Regions from separate parts of the Homo sapiens genome. Here all the other regions are linked to region 1. Evidence: promoter capture Hi-C in 16 types of primary human blood cells and fetal thymus (Javierre and others, 2016). All regions are on one chromosome and are shown on one strand. Each heading gives the region's core, a stretch centred on a gene start or on the middle of the fragment in contact. The rest is flanking DNA. Distances are from core to core; before and after follow the strand shown. Region 1 holds the start of STRIP1 (striatin interacting protein 1). Region 2 holds the start of PSMA5 (proteasome 20S subunit alpha 5). Region 3 overlaps SYPL2 (synaptophysin like 2).

What was found. Contacts are between HindIII fragments. The CHiCAGO score rates a contact against its expected background, and 5 or more counts as called.
Region 2: the fragment with the promoter of PSMA5 here is called in contact with the fragment with the promoter of STRIP1 in region 1 in 4 of 17 cell types (non-activated CD4 T cells, total CD8 T cells, activated CD4 T cells and 1 more); the score reaches 6.6 in non-activated CD4 T cells.
Region 3: a fragment that was not itself captured here is called in contact with the fragment with the promoter of STRIP1 in region 1 in 1 of 17 cell types (monocytes); the score reaches 5.1 in monocytes.

The regions. Positions count from the first base shown.
Region 1 is chr1:110,033,067-110,036,739 of GRCh38, reverse strand. It overlaps STRIP1 (striatin interacting protein 1), which reads right to left and starts at 2,116. Exons shown (of 21, transcript NM_033088.4): 1 at 1,923-2,116. The coding sequence starts at 2,102. It overlaps LOC105378895 (a long non-coding RNA gene), which reads left to right and starts at 1,301. Exons shown (of 3, transcript XR_947693.3): 1 at 1,301-1,331; 2 at 3,309-3,391. RefSeq lists silencers at 1,522-1,591, 1,832-2,051 and an enhancer at 2,052-2,441. The HindIII fragment of the contact is 6,759 bases long and covers 914-3,673 here.
Region 2 is chr1:109,424,483-109,428,155 of GRCh38, reverse strand. It overlaps PSMA5 (proteasome 20S subunit alpha 5), which reads left to right and starts at 1,708. Exons shown (of 9, transcript NM_002790.4): 1 at 1,708-1,854. The coding sequence starts at 1,826. RefSeq lists enhancers at 1,148-1,207, 714-1,645. The HindIII fragment of the contact is 5,034 bases long and covers 84-3,673 here.
Region 3 is chr1:109,476,213-109,479,885 of GRCh38, reverse strand. SYPL2 (synaptophysin like 2) reads right to left here. Exons shown (of 6, transcript NM_001040709.2): 4 at 2,909-3,110; 5 at 1,877-2,068; 6 at 1-508. The coding sequence ends at 338. Among named protein-coding and RNA genes, the nearest start is that of ATXN7L2, 5.9 kb to the left of the region's middle. RefSeq lists an enhancer at 1,834-2,353. The HindIII fragment of the contact is 4,180 bases long and covers 1-3,673 here.

The DNA of each region.
Region 1 (3,673 bases), core at 867-3,366:
TTTCTTCATTCATTGAATGGCAATGATGAAAATCTACTTTGAAGATTTTTAAGGACTAATCAAAATTATGTAGTACATAGTGGGCTCTCATCAAATGTGAGCCTCCCTGTCCTCCAGGCATTCACTGATCAGGCTCCCAAACTACCGATTTCAGCTATGACTAAAGAAAGATCATGGCATCAGACTCTCTATAAAGAAATGGATTTAGACAGGTCTCTGCTTAAATGTGTCCATTTGACTGGTCTTTCATGTAATGAGTCTATGAGGAAATTTTTTTTTTTGAGACGGGGAGAGTTTCGCTCTTGTCACCCAGGCTGGAGTGCAATGGTGCAATCTCGGCTCACTGCAAATCTCCACCTCCCAGGTTCAAGCAATTCTCCTGTCTCAGGCTCCTGAGTAGCTGGGATTACAGGCACCAGCCACCACGCCCGGCTAATTTTTGTATTTTTAGTAGAGACAGGGTTTGATCACATTGGCCAGGCTGGACAGGAACTCCTGACCTCAGGTGATCCGCCCGCCTCGGCCTCCCCAAGTGCTGGGATTACAGGCGTGAGCCACTGCACCCGGCCTCTATGTGGAAATTAAAGGGTACAAAGAGAAATTACAATTCGTCAGAGGGTATCTATTTGACCATTCGTAGCTACTCTGGAAAATTTTAAACCATTTTTCAAAATGATAACTCCTCTCATGATGAAGGTAGGTTCACCCCCCTGCACTTTCGTAATCTTCCACTTGAAAAACTGAGTAGTTAACACTGATGTCCGTCATCCCACCATGCCAGGGCTCCTAAATGGTCAGTGTTTTTGTTTTTTTCAAATAATTCACTCCAAGCTCAAATTACGTCTACTTCGGGCTTGCCAATTGTTGACATGTTTTCTCAGGGGTTTAGCCTTGCTAACAAAAAATAAAAGCTTCTGAGGAACTGATTCCACAGGTCTAAAGGTAGTATCATTGCTCTTTGGTATGAATTGGTACATTATGCTTGGACAACTAGGAATTCCCTCTCATTAACTTGGCTGATCAGTTTGGCTGCTGATCAATCTAGGAGATGGCATAGTAAGTGCTCTGGGAACCTGCTCATTAAGAAGCCCTAAAACTCCGCGACATGAGTATCTTCATTCATGAATTCTGCAAAAGGAGGCAGTGGGAGGAATTCCTTAACTTGGGGTGAGGTTACTAGTCAGTTCCAGACTATGCCATCTCCAGAACGGCAGGAACGGCTCACTAGCGAGACAGGAAGGAATGTTGGGTCCTAACGCATGCTTAAAATGTCTATTTCTCATCTTTAACAGTTCAGTATCAGGCGCACTGGGCACAATAGCCCACCACAGGTACTGTTAACCCATGGCCTGATCTGGCTCAGGTCAGAAGAACAGGACATGTTTCCCCCTCCTACTCTACTCTCAATGATAATTAGCTCGGTCCGGCTCTAAGTTCCTTCCAGATCCTCGCCGGCGCCTTCCCTGCCCACACGCGCCTTCCTCTGCGAGCGGCAGGACCCAGGAGCTGGAGCCCGCGTGCCAGGGACAGACGCCCGAGATGATTAGGTTGGGGGCGCGGCAGCCCAGCGCCCTGGAGTGCACCAAGACCCCCGACTCCTCACCCCCGAGCTGGGGCGAGAGCGGCTTCCCCAGGGGCTAGGGCCTCGAGGCCACGCCCACAGTCGGGGCCCAGGGGAGCAAACCAGCAGTCGCCGGCCACGGGAAGCTCTCCCGGGCGGCGGAGCTAGAGCAAGGACTCATGCTCCAGACCCCAGGAGCTGCCAGCCTCGCTTCCTGCTCCTTTCGCTGTATAGTGACAGTTCTCGGCCGGACTCTACCGAGCCCTCCGGGAAGCCCAACCTGGCCCCTAGAGTGGCCCCGGGCCCGGGACCCCCGGCGCCGCCCGACCCGGTGCGAGCCTCGCCCCCCGAAGCTCCTGACCTCTGAGTCTTTGCGCTGGTTGCGGTTGAACTCGCGGGCTTTGCCCCCAGGCAGGAGGCCCGCGGCGGCCCGCGGTGCCCCGGGTGGTGGCTGTGCGGCTGCCGGCGGCGGAGGTGGCGGGGGCTGGGGCTGTTTGTTGTTCACGATCAGTGGGCCCGGACCGCCGACTGCCGGCTCCATCTTGGCTGCTCCACACCCCCAGCTTAACTCGCGCACAGCCGCCGTGATGCAACTCTCGCGTGATTTTCTCCAGGAAATTTCCCTGGCCGCCATATTAAGTGTGGCGGCCAGTGTTAGAAGCCATCTTGGCTGACCAATACCTCGCGATATTCTGTCTGCAGTCCTTCCCTTGTTGATCTTTTTAGTTTTCCACCTTCCTTTCAGTTTCAGTTTAGATGTAATTTTATCTGTGAGGCTTCCCTTAGCTTCTTCAGTCAGTTTAGTTACCCCTCCTTCCTCTAAATCGCTTTGCACTTATAACTCATAGCCTTGTTCAAGGCTTAGGCGGAATTTTGTAATGAACAAAATGGATAGGATCCTAGTCTTCACAGAGTTACCGTTGTGACAAGTGCTTGTCATTCATTCATTCAACAAACATTTAATAAATGTCTCCTGTGCACCAAGCAGTGGGATAAAATGAGGAACAAGTGTCTGCAGTCACGGTACATAACAGTGCTTGGTGGGTCAGACAAACAATAGACAAATATAGAGAAATAAATGCTGAAAAGTGTTAAAGGAAAATTTGTTCATGGCACTAATTAAAGATGGTAAGGCAGACTTTATGTAAGAGAGCCCATGGTGATAGTTACAGGGACCACTACAACCAGATCTTGCAGTGAAGAAGAGGAATTAGACTCAACTCTGACTCCAACAAGATATAGTGGGGATTTATAACCAAAGAGCAGGATGAGGGTCAGTGGACGGAAAACTACTAAGAGAAACATCAAGGATAAGAAGTTTCTTGCTAAACTGACCTAACAGGATTATTGCTGAAAGCAGGACAGGGTGCTAAGATGTTGAGGGTGGTCAGATACCGAGTGCTATGGTTTGACTGTGTCCCCCAAATTCCATACGTTGGAAACTCAATCCTAAAGTTCATATGTTGATGGTATTTGGAGGTGGAGCCTTGAGGGGGTGATTAGGATTAGATAAAATCGTCAGGGTAGGGCCCCTGTGATGGGACTGGTGGCTTTATAAGAAGAGGAAGAGTGATCTGAGCTGGCACACATGCTCTTGCTTTCTCACCGTGAGAGGCTCTCTACCATGCAGTTTAAGAAAGCCCTCACCAAATGCAACCCCTCGACTTTGGGCTCCCCAGACTCCAGAACTGCAAAAAATAACTTTCTTTCCTTTATGAATTACCCAGTGTTTTGTATTCTGTTATAGCAACAAAAAATGGATTAAGACGCCAAGAGTGGAGAGTCCCTGCACAAACTGGATTCAACAAGGACAGAAAGGAAGCCCAAACGGTTAGTCCTAGTAGGCAGAGGACTCACAGGAGCCTGACTAGAGTTTTGGCCAAAGAAGAGAATCTTTGTCAGAAGTAACAAAAATTGAGAGGTTAAAAGGTGGCAGTGGGGCGGGGGGCAGGGGTTGGTGGAGGCGGAGAATGTGGCTATAATATAAGCATGCTGCCCAAGGAAGGCAGGCCTGAGGGTGTGATTTTAGATGAGTTCTGAAAGAAGTGAGGAGAAGCCCTGCAAAGTTCCAGGAAGGGCACACAGACAGATGAAACAGCTAAATGCAAAAGC
Region 2 (3,673 bases), core at 459-2,958, 610 kb after region 1:
ACTTCTAAAGAGCAGCTGTAGTGAATTTACGACCAAGACTTTTCCATAGAAAATAACTGATAAGGTGAAAAAAAAAAAAAGCTTGTCAGAAAGCTGACAAGAAAGCTAAAAATTACCATTCTTTTCTCAGAAATCTAACAGATCCCAGAGGATTGCTACTTGGAGTTCTTCCTCAGTTTTATTAGTGCTAAACATCTGATTGGCCAGGGATGACCAAACTAAACTCCTACTGAATCCATGAAGGAAGTCAGAAAATAAAGGGTGGGGAAAACTAATCTTGGTTAATACTCAAAAGGCTTATTTTTACATTTCCTGCACCTTTGAAATGCCTTGGTGACTTACAAACCTAATCTAGGACCAAGAATGAACTTTACTGGAGAGATACAGGCCTTGAGAGGTTAAGGACTTGACTAGTGGTATCACATTAACAACTGGAAATGAGATGCTGGCATTTCCCTTTCCAGCATATACTGCCTGATAAATGATTTCTTTCCCCCGACTCCAGCTTTAAGGTGTAAGTGACAAATAGAAATTGTTCATGTTTATGGTATACAACGTGACGTTTTGATATACATATATATACACACACACACTGCAAATAATTAAATGAAGCTAATCAACATAATCCATCATCTCACATACTTTCCTGTGGTGAGAACATTTAAGGTGTACCCTCTTCACAATTTCAAGTACACAATATATGATTATTAACTATAGAACTCATCCACCTTCTCTGACTGAAACTTTGTATCATTTGACCAACATTTCCCTATATTCCCCACCCCCGTGCCAAGACTTCTTACTTGCCTTTCTTGAACAAATACTTGAATTACAGTGTTATTACGAAGCTGCAAAGTTGCTCCTCAAGCAACTTATTGAAGGGAAGCAAGAAGCGTCGAAAAAGAAAGCGCTTTTTTTTTTTTTTTTTTTTTCGGATAGGGTTTGGCTGTTGCCCAGGCTGGAGTGCAATAGCACGATCTGGGCTCAAAGAAAACACTTATTTTTCACAAACAACAGAAAAAGCAGTGAATATTTTGAAGTCTGGATCCTGAACTCTAGGTTATTTAGGTCTGAAACCTGTACTAGGGGGAGGGGTGCAAGAAAGAGTTGATAAAATTACCTTAACCATGTGGAAACTTTAAGACTTTCTTACATACTAACCCCTCGCCCCCCACTTTTCTCAATAAACGAGCCAAACTGGCTGAAACGAAGGGACTCGTCCGCGGCGCCGGCTCAGACCCACTGTAGCCGACTCATTACCGCCCAAAGTCCTGGAGCCCTCGACCGGGCATGGAGAACACCGTGGAGGAACCCTAAGAGAGGGAATCCTGCGAAGAGAAGTCAGGTGGTGGCCTTGCCGGAAACGGGACCAAAGTCCTCTAGCTGGGATTACGGGAGCCGGCGAGGGACCTATTATGTCAGGGTTCAGACAACCCAGCTCTGCATGCAAGCCTTTCCAATTGCCAGTCTTGGGGCGGGCTCACATCTTCTCTACAAGGCGAACTCACTACACGCCTTGGGTGCCTATCGTCCCTAGCAACCACCCGCGATTTAAGGCGGAAGTACCTCCCTGGTCCTCCTCCTCCTCCGGACCAACCAAGCCCTCGTGAGGAAGCGCGTTGGCCCAATCACCTAGGCGGGAACTACTACCAGCCAATAGGAAGCAGGCACAGGAGGGCGGGCTAAAGAGGTCGCGGTCGCACGCGCAGTTGGTCCTTAGTACTGCGGCCGTGTGGGTGAGTTGGCTGCCGGTGAGTTGGGTGCCGGTGGAGTCGTGTTGGTCCTCAGAATCCCCGCGTAGCCGCTGCCTCCTCCTACCCTCGCCATGTTTCTTACCCGGTCTGAGTACGACAGGTCCGTGCAGCTGGGGGACGTCGGGTGGGAATTATGGGTGGGCAGGCCCGGGACCTGGCCGCGCGGCCTGGGTTCTGCCGTGTCATGGGGCTCCCCAGGAACCCGAGACTGGCCGGACCTGGGGATGTTATGCCCTCCTCAGGCGCCCGCCGTCCTTCCCCAAGCTAGACCACATCGGCGGCACTTGTCCTACCGCTGAGTCACCCCTGGGTCCTAACTCGGTGCGGAAGCGAGAAGCTCCGGCTGGTGCTTGGTAAAGAAGGCGTGAGGAGCCGGAACTCCTACCTTGAACCCGGAGAAGGCCAAGGGTCACTCTTTGCTCCGTTCATCTTTTCGTGCCTAGTATGACTGCCTTGAACAAACAAACAAAAAGTTAAACGTGCTTCCTGGAAGAAAAAGCAACTGGTTTGTAGTAGGGCATGCTGCGGTGTATAGTTTCTTCAGAAGCGCGAAGGCAGTCGTAGCTTTGGCTGGATATATTGTCTGGAGTCTGATTTTATAGGAACTGGAATTTAGAATGGTTTTCAAGAGATTTCTCATCATGCCGATTCCAATTGACCAAAATTTTTTCTGACTTTTTAAAAGTTTAAAGCAAGTTTTAAAAAACTTTTGTGGTATGAAAATGTTCACAATATTAAGTTGTACATATATATGCTGTAGACATTTTTACTTTCAGTTTCTGTTTTCGTCAGTTAAGTTTTTACATAGCTACTCTTTTTTAAAGTCAGGGAAGGCAGACATTTTCTTTGTACTGAGTGGTATGAGATGCTGCATTTCCTGTCAAGTATATGCTGATCCTGTCGAAGTTTTACCACCTGCAGTTACCACTTTTTCATCTTTTTTACTGACTCGTAGAAGATGTGTGTGAAGTTTTGACATATTTCCCCACTGTCCTATAAAGTGACTTTGTTGGTCGATATTTAACTTCCAGAACATTGAAGAGAATCATCTTCGGGTGACATAATTTTGAGTTAGGGTGTGTATGATAGAAATTGTTATGCTTATCAGAAGGCATTTATTAAATTTTGTGGCCATTTACTTAACATATGTATTGACTGCTTTGTTACTTATTTTTCTGTCTTCCCAAGACGGCCTAAAATACATCCCTTTTTATTCTCTTAGTTAATGTGCTTGAGTGCTTGCTGTGAACAAGGCACTGTTCTAGGTGCTGGTGCTACAGCAATGGACAAAATCAAGCTCCTTGCTCGCATATAGGAGACTCTTTTGAGACAGTCTCGCTCTGTGGCCCAGGCTGGAGTGCAGTGACGTGATCTTGGCTCACTGCAACCTCCCCCTCCTGGGTTTTGTTTGTTTTTGAGACGGAGTCTCGCTCTGTCGCCAGGCTGCAGTGCAGTGGCATGATCTCGGCTCACTGCAACCTCCGCCTCCTGGGTTCAAGCGATTCTCCTGCCTCAGCCTCCCGAGTAGCTGGGACTACAGGCGCGCGCCACCACTCCCAGCTAATTTTTGTATTTTTAGTAGAGACAGGGTTTCACCATGTTGGCCAGGATGGTCTCGATCTTTTGACCTCGTGATCCACCTGCCTTGGCCTCCCAAAGTGCTGGGATTACAGGAGTGAGCCACCGCGCCTGGCCTGCCGCCTGGGTTTAAGCAATTCTCTGACTCAGCGTCCTGAGTAGCTGGGATTACAGGCGGTGCCACCACGCCCGGCTAATTTTTGTGTTTTTAGTAGAGACAGGGTTTCCTCATCTTGGCCAGGCTGGTCTTGAACTCCTGACCTCGTGGTCCACCTGCCTTGGCCTCCCAAAGTGCTGGGATTACAGGCGAGAGCCACCTCGCTCGGCCTGAGACTCTTAAA
Region 3 (3,673 bases), core at 470-2,969, 560 kb after region 1:
AGCACTGGTTTCCTGCCCCCAACCCTCACCTGCAGCAGAGGCTGGTTCTCAGAGACTGTAAGGGTACAAGTAAGACCCCAAGTAAGATACCTGGGTCCAGGCACTGCACAAGAAGCACTGAGCTCCTGCCATTCATGGCTCCAGCAAGAAGGAGGATAGGAAGCCACTGAGAGGGCTGCCCAGGTTTCCAACAGCTGATGCCTGCCCATCGTCTCAAAGCTCAAAGACCAGAATGATGGGGGAGGGGAATTGGAGGAGGAGGAAGAGAAAGGTCCTGGAAGCCGGAGGTGGTTGAAGAGGTGCTGTCCAGTTCGGGAATAGCCAGGTGGGGGGCTGCTTACTGCTTCTCCACTGCTCCCTGCTCAGCTGCACTCTCCTGGCTGGGACCCTGGCCCTGGTCCTGGTCCTGGTCCTGGTCCTGGCCCTGGCCCTGTCCATGCCACGGGGTCTCCTTGAACACAAACCAACAGTTCCCGGCCCACAGGAAGAAGTTGATAAAGCCAAAGAGCTGCAAAGACATCAGGGGAATTTGTGAGAATAGTCAGGGGGTCATTGTGGGAACAGGGAGGGGGAGTTCCTATTGCAGTTGGGGTTGGGGCTTGTGCAGGGAAGAAGCACAGAGGACTAGAAAGACTAAGACAGAGAGCTCGGTATAGAGGCAGGGCTCAGGACCATCAACTGTTTAGGGGAATCCCAGGTGAAAGTGTCTAATTCTGTCCACACCATGCACCCAAGCTGTAGCTTGGTCACTAGCAGAATCTGACCCTTTAGAGGAGCATCGTGCAAAGCATAGCAAGGAGCCAAGCAAAAGTCAGCCCTGGGGCGCCTCCCACAGCACGCGTGAGGCCCTGTTCGGAGCACCTTCCGCCAGGTAGGTGTGGCAGGAGCTGTCCAAGGTGCTCCTTCCCTGTGATCAGGCACCTAGCCAGGGCTATGTTCAAATAGTTATTCAACATATTTTAAAAACCTCACAGCAGGAAGTACTTAGAGGGAAGTGTACTGATGTCCCAAATTATCTTTGAAATGCACTAAAAACAAGACGGATTGATGGATGAAGAAGTGAATAAATATGTGATAAAGCAAGTCTAGTAAAAAGTTAATGGCACAGTCTAGGTGGTGAGTGCATGGGTATTCACTGTAAAATTCTTTCAACTTTGTTGTACCTGTGAACATTTCTACAATAAAATTTTTTTGGGGGGGAACCATAAGCAGGGTTCCAGCAAGTTCCAGACGTGTGTTCCTGGTGTGCCAGCCATTAAACATTTCAGATGTGGGAACAAGTCATTTTCAGAGCAGGGCTGAGGTGGCTGGGATGACGGGCAGCATTTGAGAAGCTCAAGACCTCAGCTCTTTACCAATGGATATGGACATATTTCAACATTCTAACAACTGGGATGGCCAAATCCATATGCATCCAGCAGACCCACTACTGCTCCAAAGCCCCTTTCCAGGCTGGAGGGCTGAGTGACAGTAAGCCCCTTCCCACTCATGCTGGGTCTGCTCGCAGCTTCAAGCTCAGCCACAGCCCCAGGCTCCCCTTTATGTGTTCACACACATTGTGTAGAACAGGCAGGAGGAGGGGAGACATCACAGAGAGCGTGCCTAGAGGTGGGGAAATGAGAAGGGAATTGGAGGCAGAGTGCAGAAGGAGGAAGGAACAGAAGGCTAAGTGGCTTTTGGGTTCCCCTCATCCCAAAATGTCCTCTCAGGGTCAGCCAGGAGCCAGCAGCCAGCATGAAGCGCAGTGAGGGCACCAGCTCCAGGTGCAGGGGACACCAGCTCTGGGACACCCTCTCTTTCCTTTCAGGACCTGCTAGCTGGGACAGGCCTGGGCAGCAGGGCTGGTGCTGCTTCCTGCAGTGGCCACAGGTCTCACCACGGAGATGTTGGCCAGGCCCATAGAGGGCGTGGCCCCGGCACTGCACACTGCTTCCTCTCCATGGCACACTGACATGGCTGCTGTCAAGCTGGATGGTCGTGTGGCCCCCTTGACATCGGTCAGGCCCTTGCCCCAGGCAGCTGCAGCTACCAGCCAGAAGAAGGTGAAGGAGACAGTCACACAGAAGTCCTGGGAGGAGCAGAGGGATGGGAAATACACTCAGAAAGGCCCCATGATTCCCTTGCTTCTTTTCCACTTGCCATGATACTGGCAATCCCAGGGTGCCAGGACAGTTGCCTCTTCCCATCCTACCCAACACCTAGAACCCAGGTGGTCCTGAGGCATCTGTTCACTGCCCCCAAAGGAGTCCTGCCACTCAGGCTAGCCCTGCTAATGCCCTCAGATCTAAGATCTGGCAACAGTGTACCAAGGCATCGTTGGTCAGCCTCACCCCAAAACCCACTCATCCCAAGTGGAGCCTAAATTCCCCACTCTTCCCTCCCAGCTTTTTCTTTGATCACCATTGCTCAGATACAAGTGGCAGACTGCAGGACGCAAATGGGGTCCCTTAAGGCACCCCTTCCGCCTTGCATGCCTGGGATAGGAAGAGAGTAAAGAGGAATAATATTAATAATCGCTAATGCTTATTGAGACTAACTATGTACTAGATACATGCATTCTCATTTTTTCACATACACACACAAAACTATGAAGCAGGTATTATTTTATCCCCATTTTATAGTTAAGGAAACTGCGATTTAGAGAGGTTATTTAACTTGTCCGAGATCACACAGCAAGTAAGGGGCCATGCTGGGATCTGAACCCAGGCAGTCTAACTCCAGAGCCTGCTTGTGTATGGTGCTATTGTGCCTCCTGTGAACAGGAGCAAGCAACGGGAGGTTGATGGAGGCAGAGGTTCCACCATGGGGGTGGAAGCCGCCATGCTTGTCCTCTGCTCCAGTTCTGACCTCAACCCCCTCACAAACATCTGTTTCTCCACCCCATTCCTTCTGGCCTGTGCTGACTCACCACCAGCGGGAAGCGTTTGTTCTCTGTGTAGAGGTTGTGGAAGCGCAGGTAGATAACTAGGGCAGCCATGGTATAGAAGAAGGAAAAGATGCCAAGGGTCACGAAGAACTCGGCGGGTGCAGAGAAGTCCCCCATGAGGTGCATGGTCTTGGAGCTGGACTCTTCATCGCAGAGGGGCATCTCATATTGGATCCGGTGCAACCTGCAGGTGGCAGGGGAGGCCATCCTGAGCTCAGGCAATCCTCTCTCTCCCTGGCCCAGAAGTAGTCCTGTGCTAGTTCTCAGCAGGGGACTCTTACAGAGCCAAGAAAGGGGTCATGTAAGGAGGCAAGTTTCTGGAAGGAACCTTGCAGTTAAGATGGGAACTCCCCCGAAATTTCCAGTAAAACTCTACCTTCCCCTCAGCTGCTCCCCAACCCACCCCACTCATCTACCCTGCCCAGACATGGTGACCATGTATTCCCAAGTGTCTCCAGGGCCCTTTAGGTCACAACTGCAATATATGTAGTTCTTCTCTTTCTGGTAGCCAAACCACTAGGCAGATCAGCTTCATTCTGCCTCTGGAAAGTGCAGGCCCAGAGTGGCCAAGATAAGGTTGGAATCACCCATTCTCAGGCTTTATTGGGCTTTCCAATGAGACAGTGGACAAATTAAAGAGAAAAACACAGCCTATTATATATGAGACAGTTAATATAACTTGGGTGCTGATACTAGAAATTTCTGAAAAGGTGAGCCTCATCCCCATTTTCCCCTGAACACCTGGGC